2 separate regions of the Homo sapiens genome follow, and region 2 is linked to region 1. Evidence: promoter capture Hi-C in 16 types of primary human blood cells and fetal thymus (Javierre and others, 2016). All regions are on one chromosome and are shown on one strand. Each heading gives the region's core, a stretch centred on a gene start or on the middle of the fragment in contact. The rest is flanking DNA. Distances are from core to core; before and after follow the strand shown. Region 1 holds the start of SULF2 (sulfatase 2). Region 2 has its middle 43 kb from the start of LINC00494.

Region 1 (5,526 bases), core at 1-2,500:
CTCCGGCCTCTTCTGTGGCGCGAGGGACAGCGGAAACCACGGTAGACAGCACCCCCTTGAGTCCAATTCCTCCCCTTTCGGAGGAAGCCGGTTTCTCCTTTCTATGCTACTCCCGGGCCATTTCTGGACAACAGCTGCTATTTTCACTTGAGCCGAAGTTAATTTCTCGGGGAGTTCTCGGGCGCGCACAGGCAGCTCGGTTTGCCCTGCGATTGAGCTGCGGGTCGCGGCCGGCGCCGGCCTCTCCAATGGCAAATGTGTGTGGCTGGAGGCGAGCGCGAGGCTTTCGGCAAAGGCAGTCGAGTGTTTGCAGACCGGGGCGAGTCCTGTGAAAGCAGATAAAAGAAAACATTTATTAACGTGTCATTACGAGGGGAGCGCCCGGCCGGGGCTGTCGCACTCCCCGCGGAACATTTGGCTCCCTCCAGCTCCGAGAGAGGAGAAGAAGAAAGCGGAAAAGAGGCAGATTCACGTCGTTTCCAGCCAAGTGGACCTGATCGATGGCCCTCCTGAATTTATCACGATATTTGATTTATTAGCGATGCCCCCTGGTTTGTGTGTTACGCACACACACGTGCACACAAGGCTCTGGCTCGCTTCCCTCCCTCGTTTCCAGCTCCTGGGCGAATCCCACATCTGTTTCAACTCTCCGCCGAGGGCGAGCAGGAGCGAGAGTGTGTCGAGTGAGTGTGCGTCTGTGTGTCCCGGCGAGGGTGCGCGCTCGGCGCCGGGAGCGCGGCCAGCCGAGTCCGGAGGCATCGGGAGGTCGAGAGCCGCCGGGACCCCAGCTCTGCGTTCACTGCCCCGTCCGGAGCTGGACTTCGGGGCCGGGGCCGGGGCCGTGCGCCGGGGACAGGCAGGGCCGGGTCGCGGGCCGCGCGTCCCCCAGGCCGGAGGTAAAAGCGCTAGCGCGCGGAGGGCTCGAGGAGGGCACCGCGGCTGGGCCCCCCGCGCCCCGGGCCCCAGCCGTCCGCGGCTCCCGGCCCGACGCTCCCCGCCCCGGAGCGCGCCCGCCTCCCCTGCGTGGAGGCCGGCGGGCAGGCGAGCGGGGGGCGGTAGCGCCGTGCCAAGGGGCTGGCTGGGGCAGCGTGGCCGGCCGGGCTGGGGCGATTTAAGAGCGGTCCGGGCGGGGTGCGGAGCCGGACTTTGGCTGGGGCGGCGCGCGGGGAGGGGGCCGGGGGCGGTGGCGGCGGCGTTGGGGGGCGGGGAGGAGGCAGGAGGAGGAGCAGCAGCGCTCGCCGGGGGATGCAGCAGCGGCAGCGGCGGCGGCGGCGGCGGCAGCGGCAGCGGCGGCGCGGAGTCCCCTGCGCCCAGCGGCCCGGCCGGGCTGCGGCAGAGGCGGCGGCGGCGCCCCGCTCCGGGTGAGGTTGCCGGGGCCGTGCGCGCTGGTGAGTGGGGCGTGGGGGGCAGGTGGGTGGCTGGGGGACGCGGGGCTCGGGCGGGGGCTCGCGGCGGCCGGAGCCTTCCCCGGCGTGAGCCCGGCCGCGAGCGCCGCCCAGGTGAGCCGGGGCTGGTCCGGACCGCCCGGCTCCAGCCCCAGCGCTGCTTGCGGAGGTGGGTCCGGGCGGGCGGGAGGGAGGCTCCGGCGCCGGCCGTCCGCAGAGGGATGACCTGTTTGACCCCGCTGGCTGGCGGGCGGGCGAGGACTTCCCGCCGCGCCCCTGACCCGCGGACACGGCACACCGAGCACAGGCGGCCCCGGGTAGGGGAGCGCGCCTGGGCCGGCCATCCGCAGGGGCATGGCCTTGTTGACCCTTAGGGTTTAGACCCAAGGGACCGGTAGATGCCAGCCCACGTGGGGCTTGTCCGGGCAGGACTCGGGGAAGCAGTGGGCCGGATCTTCAGAGTGGTTGGAAACTCGCAGACACCGAAAGGACAAACAGGATCGAAAAGGCAGACTTCCTCCCAGGCCAGGGCAGAACGAGTTTCCATCGCCTGGCGGAGGGATGCTCCCCTCCCCGGCTCCTCGGGGTTTCAGAAGTCTAGCGGTGAATTCTAGGAGTGCACTTTTCCAAACATTCCTTATAGTAGTTCGTTCATTCGTTCTACAAGCATTTCTGGAGCACCCCCTCGTGCCGGGCACCGCGTTCTGTTCCAGGGAAACGCGGCTGAACAGGATCTGGCTCCTGCGCGCCAGAAGCTGCCGGTTCACTGGGAGGGCAGCAGGGTAGAGAGATGCCGTCTCGGGGTGGAAGATGGAAAGGGAAGCCTGCAATCCTAGTTTGCACACTGGCCTCGGTCCGCAACTCCCCCACCTGCACGCAGTAGGCCCAGCACACAGTAGGAAGAGCAAGCCAGACCTGCCTGTGACGACCCTCTCCTCCTCCTCCTCCCCCTTGAAAGCTTTGATTCATTCCCTGCCCCCCTTTCTGGAAAGTCTTCCTGCAGCTTGTTTTAATCACTTTTTGAGTTAAAAGTCAATATTTAATTAACCAAGTAATTACATTCAGCTTACGTTTCAATCTGGGTATTTGCTCATCTGTGCGTGTTGGGACACCCGCCCTCTCGCCCCTCCATCTGTCCCCTGCCTGTTTCCCACCGGGTCCACCCCCACTTTTGGGGCAGAGAAGGGGAGGCTGCGCTGGAGCAGGTTCTCAGGGGGAGACAGGGAGCAGGAGAGACGGGCTTTCTCTGGAGGACACCCCCGGATCTGCGCGCTCTCCAAATTTCAGCTTGTAGTGAATAGTGAAGGTGATTTCTTGACAGCCTCTGCCTCCCATTACAGAACCACCAGAGGGTTCTAATTAAATTAGAGCCAATCGTTAAGTATAGGAACGGGGTAGGGAGGACAGAACGAAGGGGGCCCCTTCCCTGTAAGAGATGTTCTCCCCAGCTTCGTCTCTCCCACATCATAGAGAAGAGAAAACTCATCCAGACAGCCTGTCGGATGTGTAATTTAGCGTTCTAATAAGCAGCTTGAAAGGCGAAGGTGGTGGGCTTGGCAGATGGCATGTTGGACCTTTGTACATGAAGGCCTCTTCCTTCCCCAGCTAAATTTATATACATAAAGGCCGTGATGTTGGCATCACTGCTGCAGCTGAGGGTCAATGTGGGTTTGGGGTTTGGGCTTTGTGTGTACTTCTTGGGTTTTTTATTTGAATTTATGGCTTTTTCTGAAACCCTAATAACATGTTAAATTTTCAAACTTGAGAGTAGAGTGATGAGTTGACTGTAAAAGTCTGGTCTTGGAGGAGGACAGCATAGCAGTGTGTGTGCATGCACGTGCATGTCCCCCAGTTCAGCTGCTGTCCAAAGAACCCAGTTGATATGCAGTTTCACACCTGATTTGGACCTGATTTGGGAGATAACATTTCCTTCTCACTTTTTCTGGCACTGGTTAGTTTATCTGCTTGGACCTGCCTCAAGAGGGCAGCTGGGTTAACCAGGCAGAATATCACCCAACTCTGTCAAGCTTTGGCCATTATCTGACCTTAGACTTTAGTCCTGCAGAAGGAGTCCAGAAGCCCTGTCCTACAGAAAAATATCAGCATTTCTGACCAGCTTGTAGTTAAAAGAAAAGGTTTAGTCCAGACTTAAGATAATTGGTAACACTTAAGTAGTTTTGTATGGGCCTGATCTGAGGCATTGATCTAAGCCCTTATACCTTACTCATTAAATCCACACAAATACCCTGTTAAGTAAGTACTGCCATTGTTGCCATATTAAAGATGAGGAAACAGGCACAGAGAGGATTGTGACTTGCCTACAGCTGGTCACAGGTAGAGCTGGGATTCAAGAGGCCCTCAAGCTCCGGGGTCCACTTGGAACCACTGGACTCTCCTCCATGACCTTGGCCTTTGTCCCAGATGTAGAAGAAACACATATGCAGGGGAAGAAAACACCTTCAGACAGTCAAACTTTGCAAAGTAAAAGGCCCTTAACTTTCCATAAACCCCCACTGTTCCGACAGAGAGTCCGGGTTTGTATTTGAGGTTTTTTGCCCCAAGGAAAACATGTGTCTGCCTGGTGCTTTTTCTTCTGCTTATGAGCAGACACACTGTCCCCTCCCCCAGTCAAAATGCAAAGGGAAACATCAAATGCAGCTGATGGAAAAGCCAGGTGAACCATGGTGAAGATTTCAGCCCACTCAGAGCACAGTGGCCAGAGAGCAAAAGCTCTCCTAGAGGTGAGACCTTCCTGTGGTTGGTGATGGAGTCTCGATGGCCTGGCCCTGGGGGTGGTGCCAGGGTGCTCTGTGTCAGGCCTGGGCGGATGTGGAAGATGGGGGCCTCTCTCAATGCTGATCTGCAGGTGAGGGGGCCCTCCCTGAAACCTGCTTTCTCTGGGCCTCCTTGGAATGGGCCTTGGTGGAGATCTACAGACAGCCCTGGCCCAGCCGGATTGAAGGCACTGTCTAATTGGGAGGGCATTAAGATCGTTATAATTAATTGGCATCCCGATAAATGGCATGGTTGCCTAATTGGGGTGGTTGCTAGGGAACGAGGCCTCACTTGGAGCCTAAAGGGGAAGAAGCGCTGGGCTGGCCACAGTTGGGTGTCAGGGTACAGATCCAGCAGTGAATGGACCGGAAGGGAGAGCAGTCCATCCGTATCTGCTGGTGTTTACTGAGCAGCTGCTGTGTGCAAGTTGCAAATGGAGTATCAGTTAGGGGTACTTGCCTAGAAGAACTGTAAAGTAATCAGGTTCCTTTCTCTTGCAAGCAACGGAAAAAGAGAAGAAAAAAACTCAAGCCAGCTTAAGGAGAAAAGAAGTGGACTTACTGGTTTTCATAACCAAAAGTCTTAAGGTGACTAACTCTAGCTTCAGACACAGCTGGACCCACAGCTCAGATTTTGTAATGAGAATCCATTCCTATCCACCGCTCCTCTGCCTTCCATGAGGCTGATGTCTCTCCAGCTCTGGGGCGGGCAGTCCCTGGCAGCTGTGGGCACCGTGGCTAGGAGAGCCAGACTGCCTGGCTCCCTGCCCAGCAGTGGGATCTGGGGCATGCTACTTAACCTTTCTGTGCCTTGATGTTCACATCCAACAAATGATGATGATCATAGCACCTGTCTCCTGCTTGTGGTAAGCATGAAATGAGATGATCAATGTCAAGTGCTTAGCAGGGCGTCTGACCCAGGTGAGCCTTCAGTAGGCATTGACTGTTACCATAACTTAGGTGTCAGGACAGATGTCATGGAGCAGAGGGGTCTCATCCCCTCTGGTTTAAGCCCAAAAGGAAAGAACAAGCCTCTGATCTGGCAATGCACACCTGAGCCCCATGGTTCCCTCTGATTGGACTGTTTTTTGTCCAAACCAGTCACTGGCTAAGGAAATGAGTTGCCAACAATTGGCTTAAGCCAGGCTCACAGGCCTCTCCCTGGAGCTGGATGGAGGCTGACTGCTGAGACCCCAAAGCCTGGAATAAAACAGCACGGGGAGTCCCCAGTGAAAGGGAAGCCCGGTTGCTGGAGAGGCAGATGGCCAGTGCCTGCGATGATGGGCCACTAATGTGAGCAATGCTGGCCAGATGGACCCATCTTCATTTTGGCCAAGGTGGAGACTGGGGAAACACGCTGCCTGGGC
Region 2 (5,070 bases), core at 1,168-3,667, 530 kb before region 1:
TCATGGAGAACCAGCTTCTTGGGCCCTTTCTCAGAGCTGTGAGAGGAAGATGTGTTCCACCCAAAGGAGAGACAGATCTAGAATGGAGATGCTGTGGGATCCCAGACACAGGATGTAGGAAAGGGTCCCCAGGATGGATCTGAAGCACCACGGAAATGTCTAGATCACTGTTCTGAAGCAGATCCAAAGAGCAGCCGTTACTCCGAGGAGTGTTGCCAGTGAAACACAAAACCATCCCCCTAACCTGAGGGTGTGATCACATTGAGACATGGGTTATAGACAGAGCTAAGAATTTAAGGATGAATTAGTGACAGCTATGGAGAAAACTAAAGAAGTGGAAGTAGATCGTTTATATCTAGGGAAAGCAAAAATGCTATAGAAACAAGGCAATTAAAGTCTACACCACACGAGTCAACTATGAAGACTTTTTACTCCATTACATTAGTGTGGACACTGCATGAAGTCTCGGTAACTCTACCAGTTGATGGGCCAGGGAGAATGGGTAGAGGAGCACCTCTATGAAGCAAATATTCATTGATCATAGCAGATAGGCGATAGATAATGTTTACAGAAAAAAACTGGTAGCAACAGAAACATATTACTTAGAAATATAGACATAGGGCCGGGCTCTGTGGCTCATGCCTGTAATCCCAGCACTTTTGGAGGCTGAGGCGGGCAGATCACGAGGTCGGGAGATCGAGACCATCCTGGCCAACATGGTGAAACCCCCTCTCTACTAAAAATACAAAAATTAGCTGGGTGTGGTGGCAGGCACCTGTAATCCCAGCTACTTGGGAGGCTGAGGCAGGAGAATCACTTGAACCTGGGAGACAGAGGTTGCTGTGAGCCGAGATCGTGCCACTGTACTCCAGCCTGGAGACAGAGCAAGACTCCATCTGAAAGAAAAGAAAAGAAAAGCAAAGAAAAGAAAGAAAGAAAGAAAGAGAATGATAAACAGCTAGAAGAGATAAAAAGTGGTGCTTTCTGGAGAGCAGAAATCATTGGGGATGACGGGGGCCGGGGTCTGCAGTTTTCCTGCGGAGGCTTAGAGCGCTGTTTGTTCAATCCTTTTTCTATTTTCTCTCTGTTGTTCAGGATAACTCATTTCTACTGGTCGATTTTCCAGCTCGCAGAAGCTTCCCTCCATCTTTTCCATTCTTCTATTGAGCCCAGGTATTTAGTATTTTTTTAAAAAATTGGTTATTGTGTGTTCTCAGTTCTAAAATTTCCACTTGGTTCTTTGTTATATTTTCTATTTCCTTACTGAAACTTTTCTTTTCTTCGCTAAAACTTTCTATATTTTGACTCATTTTCAGCACATGAAAGTATTTTTACAATGACCATTCTAAAATAACTATGAAATCATTCCGACATCTGTGTTATCTTGATGTTGGCATCTGTTGCTTGTCTTTTCCCATTAACTTAAGCTGCTACTGGTTCTTGGTAGGAGTGATTTTTGATGGACTCCTTGCCATGTTGGGCAGCATGCTAGGAGACTCGAGATCTTACCCAAATCTCCAGGTGTTAGCAGACGTCCTTTCATACCACACTGGGGGTGGGGGTTCAGCAACAGCGCCTCGTTATTGCCAGGTTGGGTGGAGCCCCAGTTCCCCACTTGGCCTCCACTTATACCCTGGGGTGGGAGGCACATCGCATTACTGCTGGGTGGGGGTGAGGACTCAGTGTCCCAACGAGTCTCTGAGCACCCTGGTTTGGAGGTGCAATGATATCTCATTAGGGCTCCTCACCAGCCTCCACTGGGCACCATGTGGGTGGGAGGCTCCTTACATCAGGTGAGAGTGGAAGTCTAGGCTCCTGCCCAGCCTTCTCCAACACCACCCCAGTCGGGGTTTGGGTGCCTTGCTACAGCTAGGTGGAGGTGGAAGTTCAGGTTCCTCACTTGCTCTTCACTGGCATGGATGAGGGTGGGCTGAGGTTTTTCCATGTCGTTTGTCCGGCATGGGGTGGTTGTCCAAAAGTTTTGTGTCTTGCTAGGCTGCCCTATTTCTTGCCCTTCAGGTAGAGAAGACAGGCTCTTCCTGATATTTCCCTTTTGTCTGTGCTTGTTGGCATTTCCAGGTTGTCAGCTTCTCCAGCACCCAGTCCACAATAAAGAAGGCAAAAGAAAACCCCAGGAACTCACTGTCCTGTCATTTCTCCTATCCCGAGGGCCCTGCTGGTCTGCCTTCTTCTCTCCACTGTTCAGAGGCTTAGGTTTGTTTTATACATACTTGCAGGGGTTTTAGCTGTACTTAGCAAGAAGAGGAGGAAAAATGTATCCACTCTCTTTCTGGAAGTGAAGATCTGAACACTTCTTTTCTCTTCTCTTACTTTGCCTCAAACAGTAACCATGCTTCCTCCGTGGCTTCAGCTTCTGAAGAGCCCCTGTGTGCTTCTCTGTCTTCTCCTGGGTCACCCCAGATGTGGGTGCCAGGAGTTACACTTCTTCATTTTCTCATTATGCCTAGAGCTGCTAGAGGCTTCCTTCTTCTCTGTCTTGACTCAGTTTCTGCCATTTGGCCCCTAGCCTTTCCATCACCTGTGGAACTGACTCTTGCTCTCTGTTTTTCAGATTGGAGTGGTTCCCATTTTCCTGCATGGAACCTGATTTACACAAAAGGTCTGAGCATTCTTATTTTAATTTGATAGCTATTGACAAGTTACCTGCCAAGCTGCCCGTACCTATTTAGTTAGAACAATAGGAGTATCTGTTTACCCACAGCCTTGAAGGGTTTGTCTTGCCAATCTGATAGGTGAATTTAATAGTCATTTTCATTTGTTTAATTAAAGGTCAAATTCTCATCTTTGTTGTGTTTATTGGTTATTTGCATTTCACTTCTGTAAACAATCCATTCATATCCTTTATCCATTTTTCTGTCAAATTATCTGTATTTTTCTTGTTGCTTTACAGCATATTAAATTAATCCTTTGTAATGTATGAGCCGGAAAGCTCTTCCTTGTCTTCGTTTATGCCATCCTTTGTTATGCCGAAGTTATAAGTTTTGATGTTTTTAATTATAAAAAGCACATACACTTTGGGAGGCCAAAGTGGGCAAATCACCTGAGGTCAGGAGATCGAGACCAGCCTGGCCAACATGGGGAAACCCCGTCTCTACTAAAAATACAAAAATTAGCCGGGCATGGTGGTGCACACCTGTAATCCCAGCTACTCGGGAGGCTGAGACAGGAGAATCGCTTGAACCTAGGAGGCAGAGGTTGCAGTGAGCCAAGATCATGCCACTGCACTCTAGCCTGCGTGACAGAGTGAGACTCCGTCTTAAAAAAAAAAAAAAAAAAAAAAGGTACATAACCCCCCACCATCGAATTAGCAAAAAGAAAATGCATTGGCTCATGTAATGGAACAACTCAGAGGTAAGGTTCCAGGTACAGGTGGATCTAGGGGCTCAAAGAAAGCCACCAAGACAGTTTCAGTCCTGCTCTTCTTTATGATAGCATCATTCCAGGGCTCAATAGGATAGCAACACGGCTCCCAGTAGCTCTGTTTACACATCAATATAAGTAACAGAATCTTGTCTAAAAGTAGCTTACTTATGAAGTTTCTTTTTTCTTTTTACACAAGGAGCCTGAAAGTATAGTTAGCTCTGAGAGTGATTCAGTAACTCCAAATGTAAGCACTCTGAGTATATATGTACTTTTTCTTTCTTATGAAAAAATGGCTGCCCTAGCTCTAAGCTTGTGGCATTCACCCAACAGCATCCAATACAGGTAGAAAGGGAAGCCTCTTGTCAAGAACATCTCTTTTACCAGATGGGGCAAATCCCCCCCAGAACCCTCCACCTCCCCACCCCACACCCCACACCCCACCAGATGCTCTCTCAGATTCCACTGGCTGGACTGGGTCATGTGACTCTGCCCTCTCTGCAAAGGAGGATGGGAAAGCAAGGAACGGGCACTCTCAGCCTGTGGACTGGGGAACTAAGGGGTGGGGAGCTGTTGGGTGGACATCTAACACCGCCTGTCCCAGGGAGCATCTCTCCTGGTCACTCCTGCTCTAGAACCAAGGCTCATTCTGCTTGGATTAACTCATGTCACGTGCTCATCCTGAACCACTTCCTGGTCACGGGGATTTACCAGCTGATTGGCCAGACCTGGTCACATGCTCCACCCTTAGATCCAAACATGGAGCTCCTCCTGAACCCAGTGATGGGCAATGGGAGAGTGACTGCTTAGTTACTAGGGTCTGGTTACCGCAAGATGGGAAAATGGATGCCAGAAACTCAAATTAGGAAATTTACACCAAAGAAGCCATGTTCACATGGAATAATCATTATTGCTGATCATGTCAATTTCTGGGAGTTAATTTCTGGCCAATGCTAGACAAACCTTAGCTTTCATCATTCTCTCATCCCTCCCAAAAAGGGACTTGTAAATGAACTATTTTCCTTCTTCTCTGGACTGCCCATGCCTCCCCACCCCCTAGCCATGCCAGTCATCACCCATTTGGAAACGATCTTTATTTTAGTGGAACCCAGATATCCCTGGCCTGACCAGTGTCTTACTGGCCAAGTTGAGTGCCCAGTAAACAGCACAGTTGCTTAAACGTTCTTGCTTCCCACCTCTAGAGGTGTGGACGCCATTGTGAAGGTTAATGATGATTCCTCTACTTCTGTTCAGATTTCCATTTCTGCCATCCTAAATGGAAGCCATCCAATCTCGCTTTATGCTCCCCACATACCCATTATCGGCTTATGAAGAATCAGAGCTGCACAAAGGCTCAAAATTGCTACGTTCTAGAATAGGCTCAGCTCTGAAGCAATTTGAATGTTCACAGGTTTAAAATGACTTGGCAGTCTGTCTATAACATGTCCTGTGGCCTGAAAGGGAATGAAAAACTCATCAGCCTGAATTTGTTAGTGATTAATTGATCTGCTGATGGAGCTCAGTTAATCTTTGCAGCCAAACAGAGACCGGCTCAGCCTTGAGCAATCAAACCAGCTGTGAAGAATCCTGCCTAGTCCACAGGCCTGTTCCATCTTAGGGTCCTAGGGAGAAATTATAATGGGGAAAAGGAAAGGGGTTTTAACCATAAATGCAGGGAATGTGCAGACA

What was found. Contacts are between HindIII fragments. The CHiCAGO score rates a contact against its expected background, and 5 or more counts as called.
Region 2: a fragment that was not itself captured here is called in contact with the fragment with the promoter of SULF2 in region 1 in 1 of 17 cell types (endothelial precursors); the score reaches 6.8 in endothelial precursors.

Annotation. Positions count from the first base shown.
Region 1 is chr20:47,781,205-47,786,730 of GRCh38, reverse strand. It overlaps SULF2 (sulfatase 2), which reads left to right and starts at 1,250. Exons shown (of 21, transcript NM_001387048.1): 1 at 1,250-1,388. It overlaps LOC124904920 (a long non-coding RNA gene), which reads right to left and starts at 977. Exons shown (of 2, transcript XR_007067618.1): 1 at 569-977; 2 at 1-326. RefSeq lists enhancers at 1-132, 4,232-4,291. The HindIII fragment of the contact is 4,753 bases long and covers 1-2,345 here.
Region 2 is chr20:48,314,354-48,319,423 of GRCh38, reverse strand. No RefSeq gene overlaps it. Among named protein-coding and RNA genes, the nearest start is that of LINC00494, 43 kb to the left of the region's middle. The HindIII fragment of the contact is 2,557 bases long and covers 1,139-3,695 here.